Linked DNA regions of Homo sapiens: regions 1 and 2 are each linked to region 3. Evidence: promoter capture Hi-C in human tissues and cell types (Jung and others, 2019). All regions are on one chromosome and are shown on one strand. Each heading gives the region's core, a stretch centred on a gene start or on the middle of the fragment in contact. The rest is flanking DNA. Distances are from core to core; before and after follow the strand shown.

Region 1 (4,058 bases), core at 153-2,652, 170 kb after region 3:
GAGATTTTTTTTTTTTTTTTTTTTTTTGAGACGGAGTTTTGCTCTTGTTCCCCAGGCTGGAGTGCAATGGCACAATCTCGGCTCACCACAACCTCCGCCTCCCGGGTTCAAACGATTCTCCTGCCTCAGCCTCCCGAGTAGCTGGGATTACAGGCATGCACCACCACGCCTGGCTAATTTTGTATTTTTAGTAGAGACGGGGTTTCTCCATGTTGGCCAGACTGGTCTCGAACTCCTGACCTCAAGTGATCCGCCTGTCTCGGCCTCCCAAAGTGCTGGGATTACAGGCGTCAGCCACCACGTCCAGCCCCGTCCACGTCTTTCTATTGCGGCCCGGCTTCCTCCTCTCCCCTCTGTCCCCTACACCCAGCGCCGGCCCTGCCCCTTCCCAGCTCGCAGCCCCTTCAGGGCTCCCTATGCCTCTTAAGACACAATCCCAGTCTCTCGCCGGCCCCGCACACCCCTCCGGCTTTGTCACCAGCTGTTCCCGTGAAATAACCCAGCTCTCCGCTCACCCGGGGCCCCGTCCTGTCCCCCAGCTCTGAAAGCCTTTCTCTACCCCAACCGCCCCGTGCCCCGGGCAGCTCAGCACATCCGGCTCAGTCGCACCCCACTGCCTCGAGCTCGCTGTCTTCCTGCACCTCCCCGGGATTCCCGGATTCCCGGCATTATCACTTCCACCCTGGGGAGGAGAAGGGAGCTTCAGACAATAACGTAGGGCCATCACTTGGAAACCCCACCTTTATTCTCCGACCCAGAACAGAAGCGGTGATTCAGAGCGGGATTAGGGAGTGCAGGAGGGACGGAGCCGCCCTCCCTGGGCGACGGCAGGGCTCGGAGGTGAGACCAGCAGTTTGGGTTCCATGAAGCCTCTGAGGAGCCCCAGGGTGGAGGCAGGAAAGTCGGGTCACCACCAGCTGTGCGCGAGCCATCTGCACCATTACTGCCAGGGTGGTTCATAGAAACTGCTGAGGGGAAGGAGACAAGGAAGGACCTGGTGGCCCGGGGTGGAGAAGGGGAGGGAGCTGGTGGTTGGAGCTCTAGAAACAGATCCACCTGGAAGGAAGTGGGGAGGGAGCTAAGGAGGGCGGCTGGCTGGGGAGGGGGGTCCTGGCTGCCGAGGGAGGGACCCTCCTCTCCTGGAGGTCCTGAGTTGGGGGTGCCTCCCAGAGGGCACCAGGGACCCACGAGGGCACACAGGTCCACGTCCCAAATCCCTGCTCTCCGCCTGGGCGTGTGTGCAGAGGTGTGCGTGTTGTAGGGTGGGAGAGGAGCCCCCTCACCTTCTCTCACCTGGTCCTGCTGAAGGAAACCGGGACAGAGTGGTTGGGCAGGCACCTCAGTGTTCCCTCTGGGTCTCTCTTCACTCAGGGCCAAAGAAACCCTTCCAGCATCGGTGACTGGCAAACCCCGCCCAGGAGCTACAGGGCTTTCCAGAGCAGGTGTGGCTGGGCTGCGGGAGGGAGGTGAGCCCGTAGCCCCTCCTCCCTCCCCATTGCCGGCCACAAAGTCCATCTTGTTATCTACCCTTAGCTCCTCCACCTGCACCAGGCACCCCAAGCCTGGCCATAAGGGTGGGGGAGAGAGGCAGGACAAGGTCGCATCCCCCATCCGGGTCCCCGAGGGTCTTCCTTGGGGAACTGTTGTGATGCCCCAACAGAAAGGGGCCCCCACTCTGCTCCGCTCCTCCAGGCAGCCAGGAAGGCCTCCAGGAAGGCAGCATGGAGGCGGGGGACAGAGTCCTGCTAGGCCAGGCTCTCGCTGACTCTGAGTCCCCTCAGAGTCTTATATTTATTTATTAATTAATTATTAGTAGTATTACTTTTTGAGAGAGTTTTGCTCTTGTTGCCCAGGCTGGAGTGCAATGGCGTGATCTCAGCTCACTGCAACCGCCGCCTCACAAGTTCAAGGGATTCTCCTGCCTCAGCTTCCCAAAGTGCTGGGATTACAGACGTGAGCCACCTCGCCCTGCCTATTTCAAAAAAATTTTTAAATACAAATGGGCCCGGTGTGGTGACTCACACCTGTAATTCTAGCACTTTGGGAGGCCGAGGCAGGCGGATCAACTGAGGTCAGGAGTCAGAGACCAGCCTGGCCAACAAGGTGAAACCCCGTCCTTATAAGAATACAGAAATTAGCCATGGCCCAGCACAGTGGCTCATGCCTGTAATCCCAGCACTTTGGGAGGCCGAGGCAGGTGGATCACCTGAGGTCAGGAGTTTGAGACCAGTCTGGCCAACATGGTGAAACCCTGTCTCTACTAAAAATGCAAAAATCAGTGGGGCGTGGTGGCATGCACCTGTAATCCCAGCTACTTGGGAGGCTGAGGCAGGAGAATCGCTTGAACTTGGGAGGCGGAGGTTGCAGTAAACTGAGATTACACCATTGCACTCCAGCCTGGGAAACAAGAGCAAAACTCTGTCTCAAAAAAAAAAAAGATGGATGAGGAATTTTACTGAGAGAAGAGGCAGGCACCACCAGAGCTCCCAGCAGTCCTAACAGGAGGAAAGAGAAACCAGCAGCCACTCCCCAGCTTCAGCTAAGCAGCAGGAGGCTACCTACCAGCTACGGAGCTCCCTTCAAACAAACAAACAAAAAAATCAGATCAAGCTTCCCACTCTAACCACCAGTTTGCAGAAAACAGGAGGACAAAGTTCCCAGTGAAACGACACCATGAGGCAGCAATCAGCCCAGTCCAGAATGTGAGCCCGTCCACAGGACAAACGACCTGTTTCCCTGTGATTCAGCGACAAGGAAAAAAGAAACAGGGTGGGGCGGGGAAGTGGGGAGGTGAGCTGTCATAAAATATGCAAAACAGGCCAGGTGTGGTGGCTCACGCCTGTAATCCCAGCACTTTGGGAGGCTGAGTCGGGCGGATCACGAGGTCAGGAGATTGAGACCATCCTGGCTAATACAGTGAAACCCCGTCTCTACTAAAAATATATATAAAAAAAAAATTAGCCGGGCGTGGTGGTGGGTGCCTGTAGTCCCAGCTACTTGGGAGGCTGAGGCAGGAGAATGGCGTGAACCCCGGGGGCGGAGCTTGCAGTGAGCCGAGGTCACACCACTGCACTCCAGCCTGGGCGACAGAGCAAGACTCCCTCTCAAAAAAAAAAAAAAAAAAAAAACGCAAAACAGATTTGGGGCTCAGAGGCTTAGACTTTCCAACTCCATGAATGTCCCACAGATGTTCCAAAGTCATGGGAATGACCTGGGCGCAGTGGCTCATGCCTGCAATCCCAGCACTTTGGGAGGCCGAGGCAGGAGGATCACCTGAGGTCAGGAGTTTGAGACCAGCCTAGCCAACATTTTTTTTTAGTGAAACTCCATCTCTACTAAAAATACAAAATTAGCTGGGCATGGTGGTGCACGCCTGTAATCCCAGCTACTCAGGAGGCTAGGGGAGGAGAATTCCTTGAACCTGGGAGGCAGAGGTTGCAGTGAGCCGAGATGGTACCACTGCACTCCAGCCTGGGTGACAGAGCAAGACTCTGTCTCAAAAATAAAACAAAGTCCTGAGAATGCAGGACAAACCTTCATTGCGTAACTTTTATTGTCGCTGACCCCAGCCGCGTAAACGCTGTGGTAGCATCCTAGGACCTCCACTGTGACAACTAAAAACAACCCCCACAGATTCCCATAACTCCCCCAGGGGGACAGCACTCCGGAATTCAGGACTGTTGCCCTAAACCCTCTGTTTTCCATTTCAGCTTTCCCTTACTGGTGCACGCCCCCATGCTTGGCCACCACGGCCAATTTCAAGCTACCAATAAGAGATCATTGAACATGGAATTGGAAAGAAACGCACAGTAATACATTGTTCTATAGTAAGTCTTCTTACTATGGTAAACACTTACCAGCCAGTTCTCTGGAGAAAAAAACACACTGTATGTTAGTATCTGCCAATCTGTGTGCCAATCAATGTATGTGCTCACTGCAACCTCCGCCTCCTGGGCTCAAATGAGTCTCCTGCCTTGGCCTCCTGAGTAGCTGGGACTACAGGTGCCCGTCACCACACTCAGTTAATTTTGTGTTTTTTTGTAGAGATGGGGTCTCAC
Region 2 (4,192 bases), core at 1,693-4,192, 150 kb after region 3:
TCACGGAGACCCTTTGGGTGTTGACTGTAGAATGGACTACAACTCCCAGAAGACTTTGGTGGAGCTCCCCACTATCTTCATGCTCTATTACCCTGAAGCTTCCTGGGAGTTGTAGTCCAATCACTTGTTTCCACTTCTCTATTTTCTCAGACTCTCTATTCAACGCTGCCTGCTCTCCTGGATAGTAACCCTTTCACAGCTGGTGCAGAGCTGCCGGGGCCTGGCGCGGAGCTGGGGGCCATGCCTCCAGGATTGAGACCTACCCTGGGCGTGTTCCAGGCAGCCTTGGAGCTGACCAGCCAGTGCGAGCTGCACCCTGACCTCGTGTCTCAGACTTTTGGCTACTTGTTCTTCTTCTCCAACGCATCCCTTCTCAACTCGCTGATGGAACGAGGTGAAGGTTGGCTGGGAGCTGTCAGGGAGGCAAAGACAGGAGCCACTGAGACTCAGGTCATATTAGACACACCACGGGCTCAAGCCTCACCTTTGGGTACCCTGGAGAACAAGCTCCAGATCCCAGGCTGAAGGATAGGAAGAGTCTGGGAGGCAGGAGCACAGAGTCCAGCCAACCAACTGCCTCTCATACCTTTAACACCCACAGGTCAAGGCCGGCCTTTCTATCAATGGTCCCGAGCTGTTCAAATCCGAACCAACCTGGACCTCGTCTTGGACTGGCTACAGGGAGCTGGGCTGGGCGACATTGCCACTGAGTTCTTCCGGAAACTCTCCATGGCTGTGAACCTGCTCTGTGTGCCCCGCACTTCCCTGCTCAAGGTGACTCCTGGTCAGCTATACCTGACCCCTGACCTCTGACTCCTCAACCCCCCTCAGCCACCTTCTATATTCAGCTCACCGTCAGAGCTCCCCTTGAACCCCATGCCATCCCCAGCCCCAGCTCAGACACTGTGGGTAACACATTGGCAGGTAGAAGGAAGCCAGCACCAACAATGACTAAACTCGGCTGTGTCTGAATCCTGGTGGAACTTATTAAAAATAGTTTCCAGGCCAGGAGCAGTGGCTCGCGCCTATAATCCCAACACTTTGGGAGGCCTAAGTAGGTGGATCACTTGAGGCCAGGAGTTTGAGACCAGCCTGGCCAACATGGCGAAACGCTGTCTCTACTAAAAATACAAAAATTAGCCAGGCTTGATGGCGCACGCCTGTAATCCCAGTTACTCTGGAGGCTGAGGGAGGAGAATCGCTGGAACCTGGGAGGCAGAAGCTGCAGTGAGCCAAGATTGCACCATTGCACTCCAGCCGGGGCGACAGAGCGAGACCCTGTCTCCAGAAAAAAAAAAAAAAAAAAAGTTTCCAGGGTCCCTCACTCAGACATGCTGAGTCAGAAAGTGTGGTATGAGACAAAGGAACATGATGATTAAAACATTCATTGAACATGAACTACCTGCCAGGCACCCTGTTTAGCACTTCTAGTTTAATGCTGACAAAGCCCCATCGAAGTAGGTGACTGACTGTTTTTTGGATGAGGAAACAGAATCAGGTAGGACAGGTCGCTTGATTTCACTTATTTTTCCTTTTTTTTTTTTTTTTTTTGAGACGGAGTCTCACTCTGTCACCCAGGCTGGAGTGCAATGGCATGATCTCGGCTCACTCCAACCTCCGCCTCCCGAGTTCAAGCGATTCTCCTGCCACAGCCTCCTGAGTAGCCGGGATAACAGGCACGCGCCACCACACCCGGCTAATTTTTGTAATTTTGGTAGAGACAGGGTTTCACCTTGTTGGGCAGACTGGTCTTGAACTCCTGACCTCAGGGGATGCGCCTGCCTCGGCCTCCCAAAGTGCTGGGATTACAGGCGTGAGCCACCATGGCCGGCCAATTTCAATTATTTATTTTCCTTTCTTCTTAAATATCTTACAAAAACTGTTCCCCATAGACATTTATTTATTTATATCAAATGTTTATAATGGGCTGGGCGTAGTGGCTAATGCCTGTAATGCCAGCATTTTGGGAGGCCGAGGTGGAAGGACCGCTTGAGCCCAGGAGTTTGACACCAGTTGGCAACATAGGGGAGACACCATCTCTACCAAAAATTTTAAAAATTAGCCAGGTGTGGAGGCACACGTCTGTGGTCCCAGCCACTCCAGAAGCAGAGGTGGAAGGACTGCTTGAGCCCAGGAGGTTGAGGCTGCAGTGAGCCACAGTCATGCCACTGTACTCCAGCATGGGTGACAAAGCAAGACCCTGTCTCAAAACAATAAGAAAGAAAGTTTACCATGCATTTAATAAGCCCCAGGCAGTGTTCCAAGTACTTTACAATTTTGCCATATTGCATCCTCATACCAACTCTATTAGATAGTTCCTGTTCTCCAAATTTATGGATGAGGAGACTAGGGGACGGTGACCTGCCGGAAGGTAATAAGTGACCCACCTGGGATTTTTGAACTCAGGCAGTCTAGGTGGAGTCTCTGATGTTAAGCACATTGATGGTTCTGACGTCAGCTACATCAGGTGTAGACATTGTCAAACAGATATAGAGTGGCCGCCATAGAATAATGAATCCCAACTGGGCGCAGTGGCTCATGCCTGTAATCCTAGAACTTTGAGAAGCTTGAGACCAGCCTGGGCAGCATAGTGAGATCCCATCTCTACAAAAACTTAACCAGGTGTGGTGGCGTGTGCCTGTAGTCCCAGCTACTCTGGAGGCTGGGGCCAAGGATCACTTGAGCCCAGGATCACTTGAGCCGGGAGTTTGAGGCTGCAGCAAGCCACGATCGAGCCACTGCACTCCAGCCTGGGCGACGGAGTGAGACCCTGTCTCTTTAAGGACAAAAAAAAAAAAAAAAAAAAAAAATCCCCAAGTACCATCGCCAGATTCAATAATATAAACGAATGGCCAATCTTATTTATTTCCACCCTACTCATTTCCTGTATCCTCAATTATCCTGAGGCACATCACATTTTTACAAATTGCTGGGAGCACACCCTTCCCCACCATCACTTTGGTGATAAACAGACTTCACAGTGCCCAGAAGACACTGCAGAGATGCCATTATCTTCCCACCACACCCACTCCCCTTATGGAAGCCCTTCCATTTCATTTCTTAACTGCCCCGTAATGACCATCAACCTCTCACCTGGTCTTCCCACCAGGCTTCATGGAGCAGCCTAAGAACCGACCACCCCACCTTGACCCCCGCCCAGCTGCACCATCTGCTCAGCCACTATCAGCTGGGCCCTGGCCGCGGGCCGCCAGCCGCGTGGGACCCTCCCCCTGCAGAGCGGGAGGCTGTGGACACAGGTGAGGAGCAATGGGATACAGCATTGGGGCTGTCAGCTTTCTTCTTCTTTTGAGACGGAGTCTCGCCCTGTCACTCAGGCTGGAGTGCAATGGCGCGATCTTGGCTCACTGCAACCTCTGCCTCCCGGGTTCAAGCGATTCTCCTGCCTCAGCCTCCCGAGTAGCTGGGATTACAGGCATGCGCCACCACGCCTGGCTAATTTTTTGTATCTTTAGTAGAGACGGGGGTTTCACCGTGTTGGCCAGGCTGGTCTCGAACTCCTGACCTCGTGATCCGCCCGCCTCGGCCTCCCAAAGTGCTGGGATTACAGGCGTGAACCACCTCACCTTTCTTCTTTTCTCAGGATCTTGGAGTCCAGATCCCCAGTCTCCTTCTAACCCCAGATTCTGGACCCCTGTCCCTCCCCACCAGGACATAAGTGCAGGACCCAGCCCCTTCCCCCGTCAAGATACAGGAGTTCAAGCCCCCAGCTCCCTTTATTCTCTGGGGTTCGCATCCCTAGTCCATTCCCTCCACCAGCCACCCACCCACCACCCCTAGGAGTCCAGGTCTCGGGACTTTCACTCCCCTGAACTTGACTCCTCCACCTTTAGGAATCTGTAAGGCAAGTTCCCAGCCCTTTCTCGGGGATTTGGGAAGCCGTTTCCCAGGCAACGGTGGCCTTCCATCGTCTGAACTACAACTTCCATCATGCCCAGGGGCTCCTAGAGTAGCGTGTGAACGGACCCCGCCCCAGGAGTTGCTGGGGTTTGTAGTTTTTTTCTTCCTTTGGGTGTGACGCAGCCTCGGCTCTTCCCGATGCAACTACCTCACTCCCACTTTCAGACTCTAACCGCGCCGCCTTCGGCCTCACAGGGGACATCTTCGAAAGCTTCTCCTCGCACCCGCCCCTCATCCTCCCCCTGGGGAGCTCGCGCCTGCGCCTCACTGGTCC
Region 3 (4,276 bases), core at 1,006-3,505:
CTACAGGTGCCCACCACCACGCCCGGCTAATTTTTTTTGTATTCTTAGTAGAGACGGGGTTTTTCACCGTGTTAACCAGGATGGTCTCGATCTCCTGACCTTGTGATCCACCCGCCTCGGCCTCCCAAAGTGCTGGGATTACAGGTGTGAGCCACCGCACCCGGCCGACCAGGCTGGTCTTGAACTCCTGACCTCAGGTGATCTGCCCGCCTTGGCTTCCCAAAGTGCTGGAATTACAGTTGTGATCCACTGTGCCTGGCCTCCTACCCCAATTTAGCCCACAGGCCCCAGCCTAGAGTCTCCCATTTTCTTTTTTTTTTCTTTTCTTTCTTTTTTCTTTTTCTTTCTTTTTTTTTTTTTTTTTTTGAGACGGTGTCTCACTCTGTCACCCAGGCTGGAGTGCAATGGCATGATCTTGGCTCACTGCAACCTCCGCCTCCCGGGTTCAAGCAATTCTCCTGCCTCAGCCTCCTGAGTAGTTGGGAGTACAGGAGCTTGCCACCACGCCTGGCTAGAGTCTCCTATTTTCACATGTGGTTGGTTTCCTCCCCGAGTGCGAGGGTGTCATTGTTCCCATTTCACAGATGGGGAAACAGGCTTGGAAATGAAGCCACTTGACCAAGATAGTCACAGCAGGGTCCAGATTCCTTGCAAATGAGAATGAGGATGTAAGCACTATGAGATCAGGCACTTTGCTGGGCTCAATGCTTTTCAAAAAAAAGTAATTAGGCTGAGCGCGGTGGCTCACGCCTGTAATCCTAGCACTTTGGGACGCTGAGGCAGGTGGATCATGAGGTCAGGAGATCAAGACCATCCTGGCTAACACGGTGAAACCCCGCCTCCACTAAAAATACAAAATAAATTAGCCGGGCGTGGTGGTGGGCACCTGTAGTCCCAGCTACTCGGGAGGCTGAGGCAGGAGAATGGCGTGAACCTGGGAGGCAGAGCTTGCAGTGAGCTGAGATCGTGCCACTGTACTCCAGCCTGGGCGACAGAGCGAGACTCCGTCTCAAAAAAATAATAATAATAATTAATTTAGGCCGGGTGCAGTGGCATGTGCCTGTAGTTCCAGCTACTCAGGAGGCTGAGTCAGGAGAATCGCTTGAACCCGGGAGGCGGAGGTTGCAGTGAGCCGAGATCACGCCACTGCACTCCAGCCTGGCGACAGAGCAAAACACCGCCTCAAAAAAAAAAAAAAAAGAAATTCATTTTCTAAATAGAGACAAGGTCTCGCTATGATGCCCAGGCTGGTGTTGAACTCCTGGTCTCAAGCGATCCTCCTGCCTTGGCCTCCCAAAGTGCTGGGATTACAGGCGTGAGCCATTGCACCCAGCCAGGGCTCACTGCTTTCTTCTCAGTGGCTGCAACAGACAGTGCCTGCACACAGTAGGTGCTCAACAGGTGCATGGTGAATGGCAGTTAAACCGAAAGCTCAGATTCCTTCCCGGTCACAGGCACAAGGCTCCACTCCTGGGTGTCATCTGCTTCAGACTTAGGCAGTAGCTCTGCCCCCACAAGCCGCGATTCTGCCTGGGTGGCACTCTTTGTGCGGGTGGGGGCGCTTCTGCTACAAGTTCCAGGCCCTGGGTGACAGTTCCAGCCCCCCGCTCTCCTCCCCTGCCTACGGATGCATAATCTTGTTCCTCAAAATATACCAAGGAATCATGTCTCTCTCCTGAGGGAGTTGTCCTCAGTCTAGAAGAGAATTCTCACCTGGATCTGAGGTGGAGGTTTGGAACTCTCCATTTCACCCTGCCCTACTGGGACCATCCCCTTTTCTCCCTAGGGGACCTGGACAAACCGTCCCTGGCCCCTTCCAAGCACAGCCATGTTTCCAGACCCCCAGCTCTTTCACGACTCAGGAGTCCTGATCCTAGCTCAGACCTTCTCGGGCACCCAGGAGTCTGGATCCCTAACCCATTCCCTCCAGGGCTTTGGAAATTTGAGTCCCCACCCCTTGCAGGACACAAGCCTCCTCCGTTTAGGACACCAGTGGCTCAGGCCCCCAACCACAGCAGCAAACCCACGGGGGCCCTGGAGTGCAGGCCTCAAGTCCAACTCTCCAAACACTGAGAAGTCCCAACCTTGGTCCTTAGGGGACCTGGGAATTGGGGGGCCCAAGCCCCTCCCTTCAGCTATGGGGGCAGCTGAGCCAGAGGTCAGGCTGTAGTGGGGAGGCCAGAAGGGGCGGGGACAGCCGGGATTGGGAGGGGAGAACAGCAGCGTGGGCGGCTGGCAGAGGCAGGGAAAGACCAGCAGAGAGGAAAGAGAAACTGGGAGAGGGAGGAAGGGAGAAAGTGAGAAGGGAAATCGGAAAGAGAAAAGGGAGGAAACGGCAGAGCCAGAGAGAAAGAGGAAGAGACTGAGTGTGAAGGAGAGAGGACACAGGGGATGACTGAGAGACAGAGAGAGAGAGAGAGAGAGAATGAGACAGAGACTTAAGGAAGAGACCCTGTGAGTCTGACAATAAAAGATTTGGACAGAAACAGAAAGATTGGAGAGAGAGAGAGAGGGAGAGAATGAGTGAGAGAGAGACTGGAAGAGACAGAGATCAGAGGGAGACACAGAAAGTGAGAGTGGGGAGAGAGGTAGTGTAAAAGGAAGAGAGAGAGAGAGAGACCGTAAGAGACAGGAGACAAAGAGACAAAAAGTGTGAGTGAGCAGGTGAGGAGAGAGATTGAGAACTATGAGAGACAGCAGCTAAGAGACAAAGGAGGCGGGAGACTGCCTAGGTGCCGCAGCACCCACACCGTCCTCTTGCCCCCCCGTCACTGGGACCCCAGAGCTGGGTAAGTTCCCTGGCTGGGCTGGGAGGGGCTCTCTGGGTTCACATTCCTGGTGCCGCAGGGCTTGGCTTGGGGAGTTGGCAGGGGTGGTTTGGGGGTGCATGTGGGAGGGCGGGAGACAGGTAGCCTGGGGCAGCCGGAAGGAGGCAGGGAATGGGGAGTCCCTAAGCACAGAGAGGGTCAAATTCCTGGCCTGAGTGCAGTGGGCAGGAATAAAGAAGCCCCTATTCTCTGGCCTGGGCTGCAGACAGCTGCCCCCTCCCGCAGCTGCCAGGGCCGCCTACCTCTCTTGGCACCACTCTTGGTATGTGGTCACGGGCCATGGCCTCCCCCAGCCCCCCAAGTCCCGAAACAACAGGCTCTTTCTCTGCAGCCTCCTCCGACCTCCAAGCCCCTGACCCCATCTCTGTCTCACACCCGTCACTGCAGAGACACAGCCCCTTTCTTTCTCTCCCCCAGCCCTTGATGGAGGGGAGCCGACCTCGCAGCAGCCTGAGCCTGGCCAGCAGCGCCTCCACCATCTCCTCGCTCAGCAGCCTGAGCCCCAAGGTTTGAGCTTCCTGGCGGGGATGGGGAGGAAGGTGGGGCTCTGGGCCGCCCATCCTTCTGTTTCCCCAAGGACTCTGGTTGTTAAGGACAAAGATCCTTAGCAACGGGGTCTGCCAGACATAGTAAGGTCCCAAATTGCCTACACACCGCAGCTAGGAATTCAGAGGCACTCCCAGCTCTGTCCCCACCCTTTGTATTTTCCTAATTCTAAACCAGAGTAACAACCTCCCTTGACCCTGGTTGCTAAGATAAAGCCGCTCCCCAGCCATGAGGCCCCTCGAGTTCTGAGAAGTAGTGGCTGCTCTTGATTAGTGCCAGAACTTGCTGTCCTATCTCTCGCCATCCAATCTACCCACTAATGAAATCCTATAAGGAGAGACCCTTCTCTGACAATAAGACCCAAGGGGCCTCCAGATACTTGCATCCCAAATCGGCATCCCAGCCAAAAGCTTAGGGAGACACTCATTTCTTTTTCCTCCTGCCGTTCCACACATATTGTTTCTCAAGTTCAGAGCCCAGAGATCTGATCTCAGCCTTGGTCAGTACCACCGCTTCCAAGGAAGGGCATATTGTCGGGACCTGGCTAAGGATGCCTGAGATATCTGTGGGCATCAGGAGATGAGGCTCCATCCGGGCAGGATGGAGGGATTTGAGGCTTCCTCTCCTTGTACTTGGTTGCTAAGGGGTGTGACCGCAGGGCACCAGGGCATCCTTTGATTCACTGGAGACTCAGCGTGAGAGTTCCCCCTGATTATGGGGCCCTCCCAGCCCATAGTCCCAGTTCAGATCCCAAAGGACCTACTACAGCTCTGGCTCTGGTGGCCAAGGGCATCTGCTTCTTGGCAGTGGATGCTTGATCCCCAAATTGCTTCCCTACAGCCTCTTCCTTGCCTCTGAACACCTCCCTCTGCCCATCAAAAAAAGAGTCTCGGCCCGGCGCA

The links. The method cuts DNA at HindIII sites, captures the fragments that hold promoters and counts their contacts. A contact is called where the count stands out against the background at its distance.
Region 1: the fragment with the promoter of FUT2 here is called in contact with the fragment with the promoter of PLEKHA4 in region 3 in 1 of the 25 tissues and cell types used here (adrenal gland).
Region 2: a fragment that was not itself captured here is called in contact with the fragment with the promoter of PLEKHA4 in region 3 in 1 of the 25 tissues and cell types used here (lymphoblastoid cells).

Annotation. Positions count from the first base shown.
Region 1 is chr19:48,693,315-48,697,372 of GRCh38, reverse strand. FUT2 (fucosyltransferase 2 (H blood group)) reads right to left here and starts at 1,402. Exons shown (of 2, transcript NM_000511.6): 1 at 1,284-1,402. RefSeq lists enhancers at 440-1,003, 1,568-2,131. The HindIII fragment of the contact is 31,324 bases long and covers 1-4,058 here.
Region 2 is chr19:48,720,919-48,725,110 of GRCh38, reverse strand. It overlaps RASIP1 (Ras interacting protein 1), which reads left to right. Exons shown (of 12, transcript NM_017805.3): 9 at 151-394; 10 at 602-774; 11 at 3,110-3,257; 12 at 4,114-4,192. Among named protein-coding and RNA genes, the nearest start is that of MAMSTR, 3.3 kb to the right of the region's middle. RefSeq lists enhancers at 4,046-4,095, 3,800-4,192 and a cis regulatory region at 4,063-4,192. The HindIII fragment of the contact is 3,220 bases long and covers 1,333-4,192 here.
Region 3 is chr19:48,866,596-48,870,871 of GRCh38, reverse strand. It overlaps PLEKHA4 (pleckstrin homology domain containing A4), which reads left to right and starts at 2,255. Exons shown (of 20, transcript NM_020904.3): 1 at 2,255-2,789; 2 at 3,246-3,335. The coding sequence starts at 3,252. The HindIII fragment of the contact is 25,039 bases long and covers 1-4,276 here.